3 separate regions of the Homo sapiens genome follow, and all the other regions are linked to region 2. Evidence: promoter capture Hi-C in human tissues and cell types (Jung and others, 2019). All regions are on one chromosome and are shown on one strand. Each heading gives the region's core, a stretch centred on a gene start or on the middle of the fragment in contact. The rest is flanking DNA. Distances are from core to core; before and after follow the strand shown. Region 1 overlaps EVI5 (ecotropic viral integration site 5). Region 2 holds the start of RPL5 (ribosomal protein L5). Region 3 has its middle 68 kb from the start of GFI1.

Region 1 (4,463 bases), core at 1,480-3,979, 310 kb before region 2:
AGAGACATTCTCACTGGCTATTCAACTCAGCGAGCTGCTCTGGAGTCCTTACTTCTGTGAGAATATTAGAGATGTTAAGAGTACCCTTCTGACTTGCTAATTCTCTACACCAGTAATTTGGTATGTATAATTACTGCTTGGGTGACTGGACATGGTGACTTACGCTTGTAATCCCAGCACTTTGGGAGGCCGAGGCTGGTGGATCACTTGAGGTCAGAAGTTCGAGACCAGCCTGGCCAACATGGTGAAACCCTGACTCTACTAAAAATATAAAAATTAGCTGGGTGTAGTGGTGCATGCCTGTAGTCCCAGCTTAGTCCCAGCTACTTGGGAGGCTGAGGCAGCAGGATTGCTTGAACTTGGGAGGTGGAGGTTGCAGTGAGCCGAGATAGCGCCACTGCACTCCAGCCTGGGTGACAGAGCAAGACTCCATCTAAAAAAAAATAAAAGAAAAAAAAAAAAGAAACTGCCTGGGTTTATTATTTAAAAAAAAAAAAAAAAGATTCTTGAGCCCTACTCTTGAACATATGAATTCAGCAGGACAGGCCCAGGAGTTTGTATTTTAAACAAGTACTCCAGGTGATTCTGAAGACGGTGGTCCATACACTGCTCTAAAGGAACTGGATTTGGGAATTGACTATATTAGACCATGTTAAGAAAATCTGATAAGGGTAAATAAATTTAGATGTAAAGATTCCTTGTTAATTTATCACTTCCATTTTCACACTGTCCACTGTCATATTTTTAAAATACTCTGGCCTAAATGTGGCCACACAACCAACCAGAGCAGGGAAAAATCAAAATGAAAATAAACATGAGGCTAGTAAATATTACCTTTAAGATATGACCTATTCTTTGGGGTTTACAGACACCTTCACCATCTAGTTTCAAGTCTAGGCCCATTAAGGTGTTTTGTGGGATTCATCACTGAAGCGCACCACCCAATTTTAGACATCTCAACAATCACAGTCTACACTTGAGAGAACATGTGTGTTTGGGTGAAACAGCATCAGAACCTTTTCTTTTCTTCTTCCTACTAAGTGTCAATCTTCAAGTTTTATTCCAAGGATCAGCTTCATATCCAGGTGACAAGCCATATTCTTTAAGGAATAACATGTCTACCCTTAGGAATATAGTCTTAGTTTACAGACACTGATAGATTAACTACTTTTTTTTTTTTTTTTTTAGACAAAGTCTCACTGTGTTCCAGGCTGGAGTGCAGTGGCGTGATCTCAGTTTACTGTAAGCTCTCTGCCTCCCAGACTCAAGCAATTCTCCTGCCTCAGCCTCCTCAGTAGCTGGGATTATAGGTGCCCACCACCACACCCAGCTAATTTTTGTATTTTTGGTAGAGACAGGGTTTCACCATGTAGGCCAGGCTGCTCTCGAACTCCTGATCTCAAGTGATCTGCCCGCCTTGGTCTCCCAAAGTGCTGGGATTACACGCAGGAATCACTGGCGCCCAGCCAGATTAAGTATTTTTTAATACAACTCAACAGCCATAGGAGAGACACATACATCGGGGTGTGCGTGTGTGGTAGGTTGCAAGGGACATTTTGTTATAATAAGATATGAGTCAGTTCAGAATCAGTGCCAATGACAATGCCTTTTTTTTTTTTTTTTTTTTGAGACAGAGTCTCAATCTGTTGCCCAGGCTGGAGTGCAGTGGCACAATCTTGGCTGACTCCAACCTCTGCCTCCTGGGTTCAGGCAATTCTCCTGCTCAGCCTCCCGAGTAGCTGGGATTACAGGCCTACGTCACCATACTTGGCTAATTTTTGTATTTTTAGTAAAGATGGGGTTTTGCCATATTGGCTAGGCTGGCCTTGAACTTCTGGACTCAAGTGATTCACCTGTCTTGGCCTCCCAAAGTGCTGGGATTACAGGGGTGAGCCACTGCACCCGGCCAACAATGCTATTTTGATAAAATCCCACTAATGTATCTTGATGTTTGTTGACTAGGTTAGTAATTTTAGGTTGACTTTTGGAATATTCTTATAATAATTTGTTTGAAATTTGTGGAATAAAAATGATTAGGTACCACTGCCAACATTTTAAAAAACATTCTTCATGATTAGCTCATCGGACGCTGGTACTATTATTATACCATCAGTTTACTGCTTCTTTCGGACCCAGGCTCTCATTAGAACAGTAGGAAAGTTTTGCTGTAATTATGTTCCCATTTTATTTATTTTTACTTTTTTCTTAGACCAGATATCCATACCAACCCAGTTTTAGATAGGTCTCAGAAGATTATCTCTATGGAAACCCAGGAGCTTTAATATAAACGTATACACACACAAACATACAAATGAAATATATGTTTCTTAAGGGCAGGCCCTTTCCAAGACTTTGAGTAGGGTTCTGGCTTCTAGAACAATGGAATCTGTACCTATTATTGTTTTTGTTTTTTTTTGAGATGGGGTCTCCCTGTGTCATCCAGGTTGGAGTGCAGTGGCACTATCACAGCTCACTGCAGCCTCCACCTCCCTGGCTCAAGTGAGCCTTCTGCCTCAGCCTTCTGAGCAGCTGAGATCACAGACATGTGCCACCACGCCCAGCTAATTTTTAAATTATTTGTAGAGATGAGGTCTTGATATGTTGCCCAGGCTGGTCTTGAACTCCTGGGCTCAGGTGATCCTTCCACCTCAGCCTCCCAAAGTGTAGGGATTACAGGCATAAGCCGCCGTGCCCAGCCACCAATTATTCTTTCTAGCTAGAAATTATCACATGGTGTCACATCTGAAAAGCCTAATTAGATACAGAAAGCATGTGCTTAAAATATGGAGGCAAGAGAGCATGGTAGGTCTGAAGAGCTGTTAAGCAGTTTAATGAAGAGCTGTTAAGCAGTTTAATATTAGTGTATGAGGGTGTTTGGGTTAGGGGGAGTGACATGGAGGAACCTTAAATGCATATTGCAAAGCAAAAGAAGCTTATCTGAAAAAGGCCAGATAGTGTATGATTATGACTACATGACATTCTGGAAAAGGAAAAATTATGGAGACAGTAAGCAGTGGTTGCAGGAGTTCAGGAAGGAGAAGAGGGATGAACAGGTGGAACACAGGGGATTGTTAGGCAGTGCAACCATTTTGTATTCTACTGTAATGGTGGATACATGTCATTATACACTTGTCAAAACATATAGAATGTACAACACAAAGAATGAACCCTAATGTAAACTATGGACTTCAGTTAATAATAATGTGTCAATGTTGGCTCATCAATTGTAACTTATGTATTAAGCTACTGCAGGATGTCAATTACAGGAGAAAGGCAGAAGGTGTTGAAGGGGCATACGGTAACTCTCTTAATTTTCCACTTAATTTTTAATTATTCTGTAACTCTGACTGTCCCCCAAGATGAAGTCTACTGATTAAGATGTTCAGTGTTTTTTTCCTATGGCCATAACGCTCTAATAGCAAAACCGCTTGAGAAAAGTTTGAGGCTATGTGTGTTTCAAGAATGTATTTAGGGCCAGGTGCGGTGGCTCATGCTTGTAATCCCAGCAGTTTGGGAGGTGGAGGCAGGTGGATCACTTGAAGTCAGGAGTTCAAGACCAGCCTGGCCAAAGTGGTGAAATGCTGTCTTTACTAAAAACACAAAAATCAGCCAGGCAAGGTGGCACACGCCTGTACTCCTAGCTACTTGGTAGGCTGAGGTAGGAGACTCGGTTGAACCTGGGAGGTGGAGGTTGCAATGTGCTGAGATGGTGCCACTGCACTCCAGCCTGGGTGAAAGAGTGAGACACTGTCTCAAAAAAAAAAAAAAAAAAAGAAAAAAAGAAATAAAAGAAAAGAAAAAAAAAGTATGTATTTAGGCTCATTTTTAAGTGAAATATAACACAGCAAAATGTACAGATTTTATGTGTACAAGTTGGTAAAATTTTACTTACATACATAGTCATGAAATTATCACCCAGATTGAGCCATAGTGCATTTCCCACTCCCCAGAAGACTTCCATGTGTCTTCCTCCAGAAACTGCCCTACACTCGTCCAAAGGTAACCACCATTCTGATATCTACCATCACACAATAGTTTTGTCTATTCTTGTATTTAATATAAAGGATTATATGGTATGCATTTGTTTCTGTATCCTGTTACTCAGCATTGTCTGTGAGATTCACCAATGTTGGCATATAGCATGGTAGCTTATGCTTTTCCGGTGTGGCATAGTATTGCATTTGTGATTACATCATAATTTATCCTTTCTAATGTTAATGGCCATTTGGGTTGTCTCCAATCTATTATATATAATGCTGCTATGAGCATTCTTAAACATGTCTTTTGGTCAGTATATGTACTCATTTCTCTAGAGTGTAACTTCTGCGTAATAAAGAAGATTTAGTAAATACTGCCAAACCATTTTCCACAGAGTTTGTAATAGGCTCCTTACTTTTTGCAAGAGAACTTTTACCTTACCTTCTGCCTAGTTAACTGTCAAAGCCAATTAATGGTCCCTTAAC
Region 2 (4,615 bases), core at 2,116-4,615:
CTTTCATTTCAAATAATAAAAGCTATATTCTAGAAGGAATAATAAATAACAAATAGCTCCCATTCTAGCGCAGGTTTTTTGTTTTTTGGTTTTACAAGACAGGGTCTTACTGTATCACCCAGGCTGGAGTGCAGTGGCAAGATCATGACCCGCTGTAATCTCTGCCTCCTGGGCTCATGTGATCCTGCCGCTTCAGCCTCCCGAGTAGCTGGGACCACAGGCACGTACCACCACGCCCAGCTACAATTTTTATTTTTTGTAGAGATGAGGAGTTGTCATGTTGCCCAGGCTGGTCTCAAACTCCTGACTTCAAGTGATCCACCTGCTTAGGCTTCCCAAAGTCCTGGGATTACAGGGGTGAGCCATGACACCCAGCCAATGTTTTGTTTTTTATTTTGAAATAATTTCAAAACCACTGCTTGGGTTAAGAACCGTACAAAGAATTTCCATATACTCTTCTCCCAAGTTCCCCACTGTCACCATTTTAACACATTTTTGCCTTATTAATCTCTCTCTTTACATGCACATATATGTGTATGTATATACACACATGTAATTTTCTTCCTAAGCCATTTACTGGGACCAAGTTGCAGAAATAATGCCCACTACTCCAAAATAGTTCAGTGTGTATTACCTTAAAAAAAAAAAAGAACTCTCATTCATAACCAGTCTACCTATGAAAATCAGAATTTAGCCAGGCTTGGTGGCTCACACCTGTAATCCCAGCACTTTGGGAGGCCAAGGTGGGGGGTGGATCATCTGAGGTCAGGAGTTCGAGACCAGCCTGATCAATATGGAGAAACCCCGTCTCTACTAAAAATACAAAATTAGCCGGGCATAGTGGCACATGCCTGTAATCCTAGCTACTCGGGAGGCTGAGGCAGGAGAATCGCTTGAACCCAGGAGGCAGAGGTTGTGGTGAGCCGAGATTGCGCCATTGCACTCCAGCCTCAGCAACAAGAGCGAAACTCCATCTCAAAAAAAAATCAGAATTTAACATTGATTCATTACTATCACCTAATCCAGACTTCAGTAAAGTTTCACCGATTGTTCTGACAATGTCCTTTGAACAAAAGAAATACAAAGACTTCTTATTTCCCTTTTTCCTTTCTTGTCCAGGATGCAATATGGAATCACACATTGCATACAGTTGTCATGTCACTTTGGTCTCTTTCAGTCTGGAATATTGTTTAGGCTTTCCTTATCTTTCATGATCTTGTCATTTTTGAAGAGTACAGGCCAGTTACTTTGTAGAATTATCTAAATCTGGATTTACGTGTAGTTTCATCATGATTAGATTTGGTTGGTACATATTAGATAACTATTTTAGATTAGATTATGTAAATTTGGTAGGAAGTGTTTTGTGTTCTTCTCAGTGCATCAGGAGGCATATAATGTTAATTTATTTTTTCTTTGCTTTCCTTTTTCTTTTTCCCTAGAGATAGAGGTCTTCTTATGTGCCCAGGCTGGTCTCGAACTCCTGGGCTGAAGTGATCCTCCTGGCTCAGCCTCCCAAAATGTTGGGATTACAGGTGTGAACCTATAATGTTAATTCATCCCACTATTGGTGGTTTTTTAACTTTTACCACTTGAATAAGATGCTGTTGGCTGAGGATGCTGGACAATTACCCCCTAGCTCCTGGTGTCACCAACTGCACTGGCTGAACCAGCCATGCTAGCCACAGACCCCTGACTGTGACCAAGGGGAATAGGTATACATATTTTTAATTTTCTTGTTATGGATTTATAAGGTAAGAAGGAGAGGGATAAGGATGATAAAGTATATTTAATTTAACATGTTGTTTGTTTCATAACTTCTTTTTTTGGATTTTATTTTTTATAGAGACAGGGGCTCACCAAGTCTCCCAGGCTGGTCCCGAACTCCTGGGTTTAAGTGATCCTCCTGCCTTGGCCTCCCAAAATGCTGGGATTACAGGCCTGAGCCAGCACATCCAGCCTGCTTCATGACTTCTTTCTTTTTTTTTTTTTTTGAGACGGAGTCTCACTGTCGCCAGGCTGGAGTGCAGTGGTGTGATCTCGGCTCACTGCAACCTCTGCCTCCTGGGTTCAAGCGATTCTCCTGTCTCAGTCTCCCGAGTAGCTGGGACTACAGGTGCGTGCCACCATGCCCGGCTGGTTTTTGTATTTTTAGCAGAGATGGGGTTTCACCATGTTGTCCAGGATGGTCTCGATCTCTTGACCTCGCGATCCGCCTGCCTCGGCCTCCCAAAGCGCTGGGATTACAGGCGTGACCCACCGCACCTGGCCTGAGCTACCGTGCCCGGCCCACAACTTCTAAATATTCAGATGAATAGTATGTGGGTCTTCCTATGAACCCTTGCCCTAAAACATGCAGAAGTTAGGAGTCGGCCTGTTTCCAGGCAGACTTTCCTTCCTGATGCTTTTGCCTCCAGTGTAAGCAGGGCCTGACCAAGACATGGAGCACCTTTGGTAGGCTAATAACTTGATAATCCACCAAAATGAAGGTTTTTAAATATTTTCTATAAATACGAATTGAATACCTCTTTCTTTACCCTTTCAAAGGTGGCTCCACAAAAGTAGAATCACACTTCCTGTGAAAAGTGTTTTAAGTTTTCTCCTCTAGAGCTCTGTTGACATCGGCCATAGCGAACTCTGTTTATTTTTCCTATTATATAAGGAATTACAAGTTGGAATCAGAAGTAATTGGCATCCTAATCCTGATTTATTCTAGTGGCAGTGTTTTGGAGTCACTTAACCCTGTCATCCTGGTTGGCCGTCCCTTCTCCCAGCTCTAACGGTGAGCAGCTGATACCCTGCTAGGTGCTGGAGAGTCAGAGGTGGACATCAGGGCCCACCTCGAAAAGTTGACAGTCTGTGGTGGGCTGAAGCCAGTAGAAAGCTGCTGTAGGAAGGCAGAGGAGTGGCCCCTATCCCAGGCTTGGGGCTCTCAGGGAAGGCTTCCTGGGGGTGAGATGGGAGGGTGGGTCCATATGCTCTTGGACCAGAATGAGTAGCCCAGAGAAGGCAAGAGGGCTCCCAAGCAAACTTGTCCTATTTAATTTTTTTTTTTTTTCCTGCTTAGAAAAGCAAAATGCGTTATGAACAAAACAAAACAAAACAAAACAAAACAAAACAAAACAAAACAAAACAAAACGCTGTAGCAAAGAAAGCGAAAGGCTCCAGTAATCCTCCCTGCTCCTCCTCACCGCACGGATCCTGTGAGATACCCCGAGCATTGGAACCTGGAGAGCTTGGGCAGGCATTCACCCTCCTTCCAGCAGGGGGCGGAACGTAAAACGCCTTGTGGCCGACGCCCTCTCTCTTTCACACGTCACTGGCGTGACCGTCCGCGCTACATACTGCGCCTGCGCAAGGGCTGTGGCCCTTTTCCCACCCCCTAGCGCCGCTGGGCCTGCAGGTCTCTGTCGAGCAGCGGACGCCGGTCTCTGTTCCGCAGGATGGTGAGTGGATGCCTCGGTCTCGGGGCTTTAGATGCATGGAGGTTCCCTTTTCTTGCCCGTATGCCAGCCTAGGGCCCGTCTCGCGCGTCGCAGGGGCCGGATGGCGTTAGATTGCTAGCTCTGACTTGGTCGAGGTGCAGTTCCCAGCGTGGCCTTAAATGGCTGCCGCCCGGTGCGCGAACTTGGGGGGAGGGGTTGGCGAAGAAGGGTTGCGTGAGCTTGGACGGCGGATTGGGGAGAAGGGTGAGTTTAGTAGACAGCCTGAGTGCGGATACTGCCGTCTAGTGTGAGGGGGCGCTGGCAAGCGGCCGGGCGTGAGAGGTCGCAAGCAGTCGACCTCAGCCTAGCTGGGGAACGCCAGAATGGAGGGGGGCTGCAGGTCCTCGGGTCCCACTCGACCTCCGAGTACCGAGTACTTCGTGGGTTTTCCAGGAGAATGTCGGAGCCGGCAAGTCTTAGATTTAGGAAGCTTGTGCCCGTGGGCTGAGCAAGTGGCTTTTAAGCCAAAATTGTCAGTGGAGCTTGGAGGCCGAGGGGTCCCTGGGCCCCGGAAGCTCCTTTAACATGGAATACGTGCCTCCTGCCTCTTCCTCTAGAGTCCGTCGCCGGATGAGTTTTTAATTATTGGGGTAGGGCCCCAAGGGTGGGATGAAATGTTGCTTTAGCTGATGGGGAACAGTGCTGTTTTAGTGGGGGAATTACTGCTGAATGTGCTCTTGCCCAGTTAAGCTTTGTGGCAGGTAATTTAGGCTTTTGAAAAACATAACATGGGAAGCGAGAGAGGTACGTAGTTGTTATTTGAGGCTAGGTTTTCGAAGTGGGACATAGCGTGTTCCGAACAAACCGACGTTTGGCATCACTGATTGCTGTCTGGAGCAGTGCTTCGCAAAAGTTTGGCACAATTACCGGTGCTGGTCCTTGAAGAAACAAATATGGAAATTGAAAGCGTTTAAAACCTTTTGAAAGCAATATAACAATAATTTTATACCTGTTAAATGTAATAAATTGGGGCCTGCATTTTGTATGTTTCTTTTATTCCATATTTCTCTAAGGATTCATTTTTATTGTTTTATGAAACTACTAGTCTGTGACATGGAAGGTAGAGGAAAAAGATTCTTGACCCTAGTTGCTTGTGAAACCTGGGATTCTACAAGTGACAGTTGTCTGTTTAC
Region 3 (4,596 bases), core at 814-3,313, 410 kb before region 2:
TAAACAATCAGACCCCTGCCTGGAGCTTGGGGAGAAGAGTCAGTCGTACCAATGAGGGGGTAGAGTGAATTTCCCAAATGGGAATCCAAGAACTGCCTGCAAGAGAAGAAGGAAAATAAGTCTGGGCGAGGTGGTTCATGCCTGTAATCCCAGCACTTTGGGAGGCCGAGGCAGGCAGATCGCCTGAGGTCAGGAGTTCGAGACCAGCCTGGCCAACATGGTGAAACCCTGTCTCTACTAAAAATACAAAAATTAGCTGGGCACAGTGGCAGTCGCCTGTAATCTCAGCTACTCGGGACGCTGAGGCAGGAGAATCGCTTGAACCTGGGAGGCGGAGGTTGCGGTGAGCCAAGATCACGCCATTGCACTCCAGCCTGGGTGACAAGAGTGAAACTCCATCTCAAAAAAAAAAAGAGAGAGAGAGAGAGACGGAAGAAGGGAAATAGAAGTAGGGAGCTAACTAGCAAATGCCCCCTACACATGGGTGTGAAGTACCCAGAACTGGAGAGCCAGGTCACAGTCAAGCTGAGACCTGAAAGTGAGAAAGGAGTTAACAGGAAAAGAGGGATAGAAGACATTCTGGGCAGAGGGAACAAAGGTACAAAGCTTGGAGGTAAGAGATAATATAATGCATGCAAGAACTGCTAGGATTTCAGTATGCCTAGTGCACAGAGTGATAAGAGATGACAAGAGAACGTGCTGAATGGGTGAGCAGAGAGCAGACAAGGATTGTGAGCTCTTTGGTGATGGGATGGAATTTATATCTCCTAGGCAGTTTAGCACAAGCTTCAGATAAACAGACCTGGGATCGAGTTCAAATCCCAACACTGTCCCTCAATGATTTTGGACAACCTCTCTGAGCTTCAGTTTTTTTAATGTCTAATTTTATAATCTATAAAATACAGCTATTAATAGCTCTTTTTCAGAGTTGTTGAAGGGTTATACAACAGGGTATATGTATGGTCTCTGACATATAGATAGTCTGGATAAAAAGTAACTGTTATTATTACTATCAGTGCTTCTCTCAGGCCTGGCATCCCTGCCCTCAAAAACCAAACAATACCTAAGTAGTATCAGTAAACATCTGTGGATTGAAGGGCTGGCATCCCCTGTGAGTCAGCCTTGCCCCTGTACATAGCTCCATACTCCAGCAACTCCTTAGCCCCTGACCCCAGTCCTGCAGTGTCCTCCTCAATTTCACGGTGCTCACAACTGCCAAGAAATACCCAAAGCACAGGTATCAAAAGACTGGGACCCCAGGCTGTTGGGCCTGCAGAGATGACGGACTCTGCCCCACATGTGTACTCTGGCTGGCAGGTCCTGAAAAGACACAGCAACCAGGGCTTGGGAGAGACCAAGAGACCAAGGAGGACACAGCTGCCTGAAGATTAGGGAAAGCTTGGCTGAGTGAGACATCCCAAAGGTGATTTTTGTTGGCCTCCTCCAGAACCTAGGAGACTAACTCTTAGTGGTATATATTCCGGGATCTTAGCACCCCTTTCAGGGCATTTGGAAGTGTAAAGGATCACCATGTCTGAAGATCTGGATGTCAAATCTGTCACTGTCTATCTCCCCAGAGGCTGAAGGCCTTTAGGTGTCTATTCAGAAGCTGCTGGACACAGACCTTTTTCAGGCATCCCTAAAGGGTCTAGAGAATTGGTAGGTGTTGACCACATTATACCTGCCTGATCATCAGTGTGCACAGTGCATAAAAACTTGTACATGGAGGCCAGGTGCGGTGGCTCACACCTGTAATCCCAGCACTTTGGGAGGCCAAGCAGGGCGGATCACTTGAGGTCAGGAGTTCAAGACCAGCGTGGCCAACATGGTGAAACCTCATCTCTACTAAAAATGCAAAAATTAGCTGGGTGTGGTGGTGCATACCTGTAATCTCAGCTACTCGGGAGGCTGAGGCAGGAGATTCACTTGAATCCGGGAGCTGGAGGTTTCAGTGAGCCAAGATCGTGCCACCACTCCAGCCTGGGCAACAGAGACTGTGTCTCAAAAAAAAAAAAAAAAAAAAAGAACTTGTACGTGGAACTCTCACAGAAATAGGCTTGAACCTCAGCTCTGCTATTCCATATTTGACTTTGGGCAAGGTACTTTACATCCTCATCTTCAGTTTTCTCATCTGTAAACTGGGGATGGCAATGCCGAGAATTAAATAAGAAAAAATACGCATAGTGCAGCCAAAAGCGGTGGCTCATGCCTATAATCCTAGCACTTTGGAAGGCCAAGGCAGGTGGATCACTTGAGGTCAGGAGTTCAAGACCAGCGTGGCCAACATGGTGAAACCCCGTCTCTACTAAAAATACAAAAATTAGCCAGACATGGTGGCATGTGTCTGTAATCCCAATTACTTGGGAGGCTAAGGCAGAAGAATAACTTGAACCCAGGAAGCGGAGGTTTCAGTGAGCCGAGATCACGGGCCACTGCGCTCCAGCCCACGCAACAGAGCGAGATTCCATCTCAAAAAGAAAATATATGTGTGTGTGTGTGTGTGTGTGTATACACATACATATATGTGCAAAGTGCTAAATATGAACATCCTTCATAAATATTAGTTCCTTTCCTTCCTTTGTTGCTATCAGGCTTTTTTCCTTACTCTTGGGTTCTTTCTCCTATTCTTTGGCACCCATCCATCTTGTCTCCTATTCTTGCTGTGTACTGACTGTCAGGAAGCTTCATAGTGCTGTCCTCTTGGATTAACTTCCTCCCAACCCACGGCACTGGCACTTCAGAAGACTTGGCAGTAAAAAGAGCCATAATCATTCAGTCATGCAAATTGAGCACTCTATGCTAGGTCTTACGCTAAGCGAAGGAAATACCAAGGAGAATAAGGCAGTCTGTTCCTCATGAAGCTCCACCCCAGTGAGAGACACCAGCACAAAAGAGCTCATAATAACGCTGTGTAAAAATGCAGTGACTTTGGCAAAGAAGGGCCTACCTGCTGGGTGTGGGAGCCTCTAGGAGGAAGCAACACACAAGATGAGTCTTAAAGGATGAGTAGATACTGCCTAGAGGAGGGAAGGCGAGGGGAAGCATAAGCAAAATCAAGGAGGAGACCTAGAGCCTGGCATGTGCAAAGAAACATGGGCAGTTCTGCATTGCTGGAAAATAAAGTGGCACATAGCCTACAGTAGATGGCCAATTAATATTTGTTTGGGTAAGCATAGAAAGAGACTGATGGACAATACAGCAAACTGTTCAATACTATGAAGTTGAGAACAGGAGGCAAGGGAATCCTTCAGTTTTCACATTATACACTACCATGTTGTTTGAAATTGTTACAAGCATGTATCAATTTTATAATTTAAAAATACACTTTTGGCCTGGTGCAGTGGCTCATGCCCATAATCCCAGCACTTTGGGAGGCCGAGGCAGGTGGATCACCTGAGGTCAGGAGTCCAAGACCAGCCTGGCCAACATGGTGAAAACCCGTCTCTACTTAAAATACAAAAGATAGCCAGGAGTAGTGACAGGCACCTGTAATCCCGCTGCTCGGAAGGCTGAGGCAGGAGAATTGCTTGAACCCAGGAGGCAGAGGTTGCAGTGAGCTGAGATTGCATGATTGCACTCCAGCCTGGGTGACAGAGTGAGACTCCACCTCAAAAAAAAAACAACAAAAAACACTTTTTTGAAAATAATAAAAAGTTAATTTTGGCTGCAATGTGTAGAACAAGTTGGAGTTGGGGTAAGCCTGAGGCAGGGCGACCCAGTTATAAGGCTACTGCAGATGATGAAGGAGTCTTTTTTTTTTGTTGTATTTTTAGTAGAGATGGGGTTTCAACATGTTGGCCAGGCTGGTCTCAAACTCCTGACCTTGTGTTCCACCCTCCTCAGTCTCCCAAAGTGCTAGGATTACAGGCGTGAGCCACCGCACCTGGCTGATGAAGGAGTCTTAAACCAGAGAAGTAGCTATGGGGGTCGGGAGAAGGAAAAGTCTAGAGCTTCAAGATTGTACAGCTGTGTGGGTGGTGGTACCTTTACTGAGACAGAGACCATGAGGGAAAACAGGTCTGGGTTAGGAGGGGAGGAGAGGTAGAGACAATGAGAGTAGTTTTGTCCATGTAGGAGCTGTGGTGTTCATGGGATACCCAGCTGGTAACTTGACTATATGAGTCTGATGTTTCAAAAGAGACAAGAAGTGCCGGGCACGGTGGCTCATTCCTGTAATCCCAGCACTTTGGGAGGCCGAGGTGGGTGGATCACAAGGTCAGGAGATGGAGACCATCCTGGCTAACATGGTGAAACCCCGTCTCTACTAAAAATACAAAATTAGCTGGGCACGGTGGCGCATGCCTGTAATCCCAGCTACTCGAAAGGCTGAGACAGGAGGTTGCTTGAACCCGGGAGATGGAGGTTGCGGTGAGCCGAGATCATGCCATTGCACTCCAGCCTGGGTGACAGAGCAAGATTCCGTCTAAAAAAAAAAAAAAAAAAAGCTAGGTGTGGTGACACACGCTCGTAGTCCCAGCTACTAAGGAGGCTGAGGTGGGAGAATCGCTTGAATCAGGGAAGCTGAGGTTGCAGTGCCAGGGCACTCCAGCCTGGGCGACAGAGCCAGACTCTGTCTCAAAAAAAAAAAAAAAAAAA

Evidence for each region. Contacts are between HindIII fragments. The study calls those that stand out against the background at their distance.
Region 1: a contact is called between a fragment that was not itself captured here and the fragment with the promoter of RPL5 in region 2, in 1 of the 25 tissues and cell types used here (mesenchymal stem cells).
Region 3: a fragment that was not itself captured here is called in contact with the fragment with the promoter of RPL5 in region 2 in 1 of the 25 tissues and cell types used here (liver).

What each region holds. Positions count from the first base shown.
Region 1 is chr1:92,523,661-92,528,123 of GRCh38, forward strand. All of the region lies in intron 19 of EVI5 (ecotropic viral integration site 5), which reads right to left. Among named protein-coding and RNA genes, the nearest start is that of GFI1, 39 kb to the left of the region's middle. The HindIII fragment of the contact is 4,390 bases long and covers 535-4,463 here.
Region 2 is chr1:92,828,675-92,833,289 of GRCh38, forward strand. RPL5 (ribosomal protein L5) reads left to right here and starts at 3,366. Exons shown (of 8, transcript NM_000969.5): 1 at 3,366-3,443. The coding sequence starts at 3,441. It also overlaps a transcript of DIPK1A not described here. RefSeq lists enhancers at 3,115-3,164, 3,168-3,806, 3,335-3,654, 3,807-4,444. The HindIII fragment of the contact is 19,619 bases long and covers 1-4,615 here.
Region 3 is chr1:92,417,025-92,421,620 of GRCh38, forward strand. No RefSeq gene overlaps it. Among named protein-coding and RNA genes, the nearest start is that of GFI1, 68 kb to the right of the region's middle. The HindIII fragment of the contact is 4,876 bases long and covers 1-4,501 here.